2 separate regions of the Homo sapiens genome follow, and region 2 is linked to region 1. Evidence: promoter capture Hi-C in human tissues and cell types (Jung and others, 2019). All regions are on one chromosome and are shown on one strand. The core of a region is centred on a gene start or on the middle of the fragment in contact, and the rest is flanking DNA. Distances in the headings are between cores, read along the strand shown.

The links. The method cuts DNA at HindIII sites, captures the fragments that hold promoters and counts their contacts. A contact is called where the count stands out against the background at its distance.
Region 2: a contact is called between the fragment with the promoter of DYRK1B here and the fragment with the promoter of IFNL1 in region 1, in 1 of the 25 tissues and cell types used here (stomach).

The regions. Positions count from the first base shown.
Region 1 is chr19:39,294,048-39,297,778 of GRCh38, reverse strand. IFNL1 (interferon lambda 1) reads right to left here and starts at 1,372. Exons shown (of 5, transcript NM_172140.2): 1 at 1,187-1,372; 2 at 897-974. The coding sequence starts at 1,357. The HindIII fragment of the contact is 11,779 bases long and covers 1-2,475 here.
Region 2 is chr19:39,831,783-39,835,663 of GRCh38, reverse strand. It overlaps DYRK1B (dual specificity tyrosine phosphorylation regulated kinase 1B), which reads left to right and starts at 1,502. Exons shown (of 11, transcript NM_004714.3): 1 at 1,502-1,641; 2 at 3,696-3,859. The coding sequence starts at 3,797. FBL (fibrillarin) reads left to right here. Exons shown (of 9, transcript NM_001436.4): 8 at 851-996; 9 at 1,102-1,206. The coding sequence ends at 1,126. RefSeq lists silencers at 1,690-1,799, 2,060-2,329. The HindIII fragment of the contact is 28,957 bases long and covers 1-3,881 here.

The sequences.
Region 1 (3,731 bases), core at 123-2,622:
CAAGGAGGCAGGTGAGGGGATAAGTGAAATGGAGACAAATGAAAGGGGACTTACGGGGGTCACAGAAGTTCTCTGGGGCGGGGTGGGGACGGGTGAGGAGAAAGCAGGTTGGGGGCACAGTAAGAGAGGGACAGTTGCATGCACAGAGAAGAAGGGTAGGGCTGGGTGTGGTGGCTCACGCCTGTAATCCCAGCACTTTGGGAGGCCGAGGCGGGTGGATCACCTGAGGTCAGGATTTCGAGACCAAGCCTGGCCAACATAGTGAAACCCCGTCTCTGCTAAAAATACAAAAATTAGCTGGGCATCATGGCACATGCCTGTAATCCCAGCTACTCGGGAGGCTGAGGCAGGATAATTGCTTGAACCCGGGAGGCAGAGGTTGCAGTGAACCGAGATCATGCCACTGCACTCCAGCCTGGGCCATAGAGCAAGACTCTGTCTCAAAAAAAAAAAAAAAAAAAAAAAAAAGAGAAGGGTGGATGAGGGGGGAGCATGAGCTGGATGAATGTCAGTGAGAGATAATGAGGGACAGGTGACAGAGGCAGGTGAGAGGGAGAGGGGGTCAGTGTTGGGAACAGACAGGGAGAAGTGGAGCAGGACGAAAGGCACAGGTGGGCGACAGACTGGAGACATTTGGGAGAGAAATGAAGAGTGAGAGTGGAAGTGACAGGGACAGGTGAGCGAGCTAGGGAAGTGGGGCCGATGGGAGATGATAAAAGGGACCCAGGGGAAGGACAGAGTCAAGAGAGCAGTTTTGAAGTGGCAGGGGCACAGGACAGGTGAGGAGAGGTCCAAGAGAGTGAAGGACAAGGGAAACAAAGAAGGCTAAGGGGCCACTTAAGAAGAGGGGGGAGAGGGTCAAGGGAAGGGTGAAGGGGGCCTGACTTTCAGCTCACCTGGAGAAGCCTCAGGTCCCAATTCCCGGGGAAGACAGGAGAGCTGCAACTCCAGTTTTTCAGCTTGAGTGACTCTTCCTAGAGAGCAAGGGCAGGGGTTAGCCCACAGCAGGATGGCTGGAAGCTAGCTCATAGCAGCAAGGATGAAGTTGGCCTGACAGCATGGGTTTAACCCAGTGCAGAAAGGATAGAGGTTTGCCATAGTTGGAAGGCTAGAGGCTAGCCCACAGTAGAAGGGCAGTAATTGGGACACCCGTAGAAGTGGTTCATCCACAGCAACAGGAACTCACCAAGGCGTCCCTGGCCTTCTTGAAGCTCGCTAGCTCCTGTGGTGACAGAGATTTGAACCTGCCAATGTGGCAGCCCTTCCCAGTTGTGGTGGGCTTGGAAGTGGGGACAGGGCCTGCCACGGCCAAGCCTAGCACCAAAGTCACCAGCACCACGGTCCAAGCTGCAGCCATGGCTAAATCGCAACTGCTTCCCCAGCGGCATGGCTCTGCTTTTTAGCCACGCAAAATGGGCAATCCAAGATGATGTGTGTAAAGTGAAAAGGTAATTGGAAATGAGAATTTCCACTTTGACTTAAGAGGCATGAGTGGGCGGGGCCCGTCTGGGAGCCTGATGAGGGAACAGGTGTGGGCAGGGCCAAGTGAGCTGGGAGCTGCATCAAGAAGGAAAGAGAAACTGAAATCCTTAGAACTCCCTGGGCAGCTTTCAGCCAACTGGCCTCAGGGAGTCCCTGACGGAGGCTGAGATTAGGGATAAGGCTACCTGAGTGGCAGAGAGGAAGCTTCTTTTTTATTCTAAATTAGCCAGGTGTGGTGGCATGCGCCTGTGGTCTCAGCTACTCAGGAGGCCGAGGCATGAGAATCACTTGAACCCGGGAGGCGGAGGTTGCAGTGAGCCAAGATCGTGCCACTGCACTCCAGCCTGGGTGATGGAGTGAGATCCTGTTTCAAAAAAAAAAAAGCTTGTTTTTTATTTTATTGTTATTATTATTTTTTGAGACGTAGTTTTGCTCTTGTTGCCCAGGCTGGAGTGCAATGGTGCAATCTTGGCTCACTGCAACTTCTGCCTCCCGAGTTGAAGCGATTCTCCTGCCTCAGCCTCCTAAGTAGTTGGGATTACAGGTGCATGCCATCACGCCTGGCTAGTTTTTGTATTTTTAGTAGAGACTGGGTTTTACTATGTTGGTCACGCTGGCTTCGAACTCCTGACTTCAGATGATCTGCCTGCCTTGGCCTCCCAAAGTGCTGGGATTACAGGCGTGAGCCACCACCTTACTTTATTATTTATTTATTTATTTTTGTAGAGATAGGGGTCTCACTATGTTGCCCAGGCCAGTCTTGAACTCCTGGCCTTAAGCCATCCTCCTGCTTCAGCCTCGCAAAGTGCTAGTATTAAAGGCATGAGCCACTGCTCCTGGCCAAGAAGGAGCTTCTGCCATTGGTTTAAGAATGTCCCATTAACTAATTTCAGTTCATGCTCCTAATGTTTCTCTGAGTAGTTATTTTTATAATTGTGATGGTTAATTTTAGGTGTCACCTTGACTGGTTAAGTTTATCAGATAGCTGGTGATGCGTTAATTCTGGGTATGACTCTGGGGTGTTTCCAGAAGAGATTGGCATTTGAATCAATGGACTGAGTAAGGAAGACCCGTTGTTACCCAATGTGGTGGGCACCATCCAATTGGCCGAGGGCCTGAATAGAACAAAAAGGCAGAGGAAAGGAGAATTTGCTCTCTCTTATGAGCTGGGACACCCTGCACCTGCCCTTAAACATCAGAACTCCAGGCTCTTTGGTCTTTGAATGCTGGGATGTGCAGCTGGGCATGGTGGCTCACGCCTGTAATCCCAGCAGTTTGGGAGGCTGAGGCAGGTGAATCACTTGAGGTCAGGAGTTCGAGACCAGCCTGGCCAACATGGTGAAACCCCATCTCTACTAAAAATATAAAAATCAGCCAGGCGTGGTGGCACAGGCCTGTAGTCCCAGCTACTTGGGAGGCTGAGGCAGGAGTATCGCTTGAACCCTGGAGGCGGAGGCTGCAGTGAGCTGAGATCATGTCACTGCACTCCAGCCTGGTCAACAGAGTGAGACTCCATCTCAGAAAAAAAAAAAATGCTGGGACTTGCACTAGCTACCCCCTAAGTCCTGAGGCTTTTATTCTGGAACTGAGCTGCACTACAAGCTTCCCTGGTTCTCCAGCTTGCAGATGGCCTGTTGTGGAACTTCTTAGCCTCCCTAATTGTCTGAGCCAATTCCCCTAATAAATCCCCTCCTATCTCTCTCTCATCTATCTAGTCTCTCTCTCTCTCTCTCTCTCTCTCTCTCTCTATCTAGTCTATCTCTCTCATCTATCTAGTCTATATCTCTCTATCTATCATCTATTTATCCAAACATCCTATTTGTTCTGTCTCTCTGGAGAACCCTGACTAATACAATAATCATGCCCATTTTACTAGTGAGATAACTGAGGCATAGGAAGGCAAAGTGACTTGCCTAAGGTCCCACAGTGGGATAGAGGCAGAAATGGGGTATGATGAGTCCTATGTACTTGCTCCCTATTCCATATGCAGCCCAGGTAGAAGATGAGAACCTCTGGGGGTAGCAGGCCCACTTCTCCTTTCTGTCCCTCTGGGTAGCATGAGAGGGGTAGGGAACTCCTTATTCGCTGGGGGCAAGCGCATTTCCTGGGGACTGGAGGGGCTGCCTGGAGAGAAGGCAGGCGGTGAGTCTGGTTGCCTTGCTATCATCATCCCTGCAGTAATAGTAATTGTGTAGCAGGTAAGAAACTGCTCTGATGTGCAGACATTTCCTATTTTCACTCCTTTATTT
Region 2 (3,881 bases), core at 253-2,752, 540 kb before region 1:
ACGAGCCACTGCACCCAGCCAAAAACTTTCATTAAGCCTTTTATCACATTTCCTAAACCCGAGTGTCTTAGCCCATTTTATGCAGCTATCACAGAATGCTATAGACTGGGTAATTTATTTATTTTTATTTTTATTTTTATTTTTTTGAGATGGAGTCTTACTCTGTCACCAGGTTGGAGTGCAGTGGTACGATCTCGGCTCACTGCAACCTCCAGTTCCTGGGTTCAAGCGATTCTCCTGCGTCAGCTTCCCGAGTAGGTGGGACTACAGGTGTGCGCCACCACACCCGACTAATTTTTGTATTTTTAGTAGAGATAGGGTTTCACCGTGTTGGCCAGGATGGTCTCAATCTCCTGATTTCGTGATTGAGCCACCTCGGCCTCCCAAAGTGCTGGGATTACAGGCGTGAGCCACCACGCCCAGCCTTAGACTGGGTAATTTATAATGAATGGAAATTTATTTGGCTCCCAGTTCCAAAGGCTGGAAAGTCCAAGATTGGAGGTCTGAATCTGGCGAGGGCCTTCTTGCTGTCATCCATTGGCAGAAGGGTGAGAGCAAGATAGAAAGGGGGCATAATCATCCTTTTAATCAGCAACCCACTCTTGTGATAATAGCATTACTCTATTCAGGAAGGCAGAGGCCTCATGACCTGAATCATCTCTCGAAGGTCCCACCTCTCAACTCTTGCATTTAAGGGTTACGTTTCCAACACATGAACTTTGGGGGACACACTAGAACCATAGCACTGAGTTTTACTTGAATTAATAATGAAAACATCTGGTTTAAAGAGCACACAAGAGAAAAACAGCCCAAAGCCCTGTTGTAGACATTAGTCCTTTCTCCTCTTTAGGCCAACTGCATTGACTCCACAGCCTCAGCCGAGGCCGTGTTTGCCTCCGAAGTGAAAAAGATGCAACAGGAGAACATGAAGCCGCAGGAGCAGTTGACCCTTGAGCCATATGAAAGAGACCATGCCGTGGTCGTGGGAGTGTACAGGTGAGCAGGGGCCCAGCAATACACCAAGACAGACATCTCTGTCCCTTGCACCCCGAGTGCCATGATCCTGGGGACCCTCCTTCATCACCTATCTTCCTCTCACAGGCCACCCCCCAAGGTGAAGAACTGAAGTTCAGCGCTGTCAGGATTGCGAGAGATGTGTGTTGATACTGTTGCACGTGTGTTTTTCTATTAAAAGACTCATCCGTCTCCCATGTCTGCTGCTCATTCCTCCCCTTGACCTGCTGACACAGGGAGCACGCACCCTTGGTCAATTTTGCGGGGTTGGGTAAATTCTCACTCGGTCACAGAGCGCATGCTCCGTTTCTAGCTGCCTTTGCGCAGCGGCAGCCTGGATTTCGGTTCTTGGGTGGGATTGGTAGCTCGCTGCGCATGCGTGCAGGTAAGCGGCCATCTCGCGCAGGCGGAGTGTCAGTGTGGGTCACGTGAGGGGAGCGGAGAGGGAGGGATGGGGGCGGAGTCCAGGGCGTGGGGGGGCCGGTTTGTTGTGGTCGCCATTTTGCTGGTTGCATTACTGGGTAATCGGGGCCCTGGCTTGCCGCGTCCGCCGGATACCCTCAGCCAGTGGGCAGGTCTGAGCTCGGGCTCCCCGAGCAGTTTGAGTCCCCTTGCCCGCTCCTTCAGGTAACGGCGCGGGGACGGGTGGGGCGGCAAGCGGTCGCAGGGAGGTGGGCAGGACGGGATCCGCCCTGCTCCCGTCGCCGTGAGACTTAGCACGAGGCCAAGGGAGGAGAGGAGGGGGGTGGCAGGCAGGTGCGGGCCCTGCCTGGCTATTCATAGTTGAATTCCTGGAACCGGCCAAGCCCGAGGAAGCAGTTGCAGGAGGGAGGCTGGGAGGGGGTAGCCGGGCCCCACTCCCGCCCTTTGTTTGGGCTCAGCTCCGCGGGCCGCTTCTTCGTCGCCTAGCAACAGCTGCCCTAGGCTGTGATTGGCTGAGCTCTTGGCACCAGCGACCAATGGTACAGTTGTTGCCATGGCAGGTGCCGATTGCCAAGCTCAGTCGGGCCCCGCCTTCCGGTCTCAGCAGGCCCAGGAGGGCCTCCTGGGTGGGGGGCGGGACGCCGGGTCCCTAGGGGCTGGTGGTCACTCAGGGTGGGGCGTGTCGCCCCTCCCCCGTCCACCTGCTCTACTCTTCCCCCGCGTGCCCTGGGCTGACCCTTGTCCCCTCCTCTCCCCGCCCCCGGTGGCAGTGGCGGCTGCTGTTGTCACCCACCGGGCCTCCTGTCCCGCTTGCCCTCCCCGCCGCGGGGCCGGCCGGGCCAGAGACAGGCGGTCGCCTTTTCAGCGCCGCCACCGCCGCCATGCTGGCCGCTCGCCCACCCCACTGGGGGCCCCACCGCGCCCCAGCCCCCCGTGGGCCCCGCGCCAGCCCTGACCCGGGTAGGGGGTGGGGGCTGGGAGAGATGATCCTGGTGTGGGAGGGCCCCGGAGAAGAGGTGGTTTTTTGGGGGAAGCTCCAAGGGTGGAGGAGTCGTGGAGTGGCAAGGCATGGAATAGGAGAAAGGGATTTGACATGGGGGAGAGAGTGGCCCATGGGGAGAAGATTTTTGCTGTAGCTGACAACTCTGGGAGGAGAGAACCCTATGTGATAACTTGGGGATTTGACTTTGAGGCCCTCTAGGAGTGGACACAGTTGTGGAATGACCCTGGTATAAAGAGGGGTGCCTGGAGAAAGGTCTGTGGTAGGAATATTAGGGTGTGTGTGTGTGTGTAGGGGGGCAAGGAAGCAGTGTAGGGGAGAAAAGGATGATCACTCTAAACTGTGGGAAGAGACACCTCCTCCTTCTCCCATCAGGAGGAGTGGGCCTTGATTGGGATGGGATATTGGAGTAATATGGGGAAGAACCCTGTTGTGGTAGGGGGAATTGGGATATGGTACAGGGAGACTACCTGGAAGGCTGGTTCCTAATATGGAGGACCTGAAATAGGGAAGCGGTCTTGGCATGATATGGAGAGGGTCCCCTAGGAAAATCGTGCCCTGGTGGATGAGAATGCTGTAGAGATAGGACTCTGTTCTATAGAGGTTCTCAGATAACTTTGGTGTGGTTGGGAGGTCCCCAAGGACGCTGATGTGGTTTTAGGGCTGCAGAGGACTCTGCTGTGGTTTGGGAGGGGAAGACTCATGTGGTTTGGGAATCCTAGAGTTCTCTGGGTTGAGGGAATCTACTGAGAAGGATAGATCTTAAAGTATTGGCCCTGGCTGTGCTACGGGCTGAGATCCTGATGTTCAGGGAAGACTACAGAAAGTGGCATCTTGTGTTAGGGGCCCTGGGGAGGGCCACGAGTAGTGAGAAAAGAATGAAGCCTACTCCTCTGCATACTGTCTGTGGTTTCTTTTTTCTTTTCCTCCTCTGAATTATTGGTGTCTTCCTGTCCTCCTTTCCCTGTGATGGCTCATATCGACCCCTGCTTGGCCCCCAATCATTGTCTTTTATGTGTTCTCTTTGTGCTGCCTTAATCATTTACTTGATCATTATTTGTCGAGGGACTGCTGTGCCATCCCCCCCCACCTGGCTACCACTTCTCTGCCCCTTCTCTTCATTGCTATCTGCTGCTCCGTTGTGCCCTTTTCCTCTTCTCTCTGTGCCCTGTCTTTCTCATGTCCACTCTTCCCCGCCTGGCACTATTCACATATCCCCTTGTTCCATGTTGTTTTCCCACTTCCTGTCTGCTCTCAGGTCTCAGCGGCGGTGGCAGCCGAGGTGCAGGATGCAAGAAGGCGCCCCCCGGCCGGGCTCCCGCTCCAGGCCTCGCTCCCCTGCGGCCCTCTGAGCCCACCATGGCCGTCCCACCGGGCCATGGTCCCTTCTCTGGCTTCCCAGGGCCCCAGGAGCACACGCAGGTACGCGTTCAGCTGGCTCCTC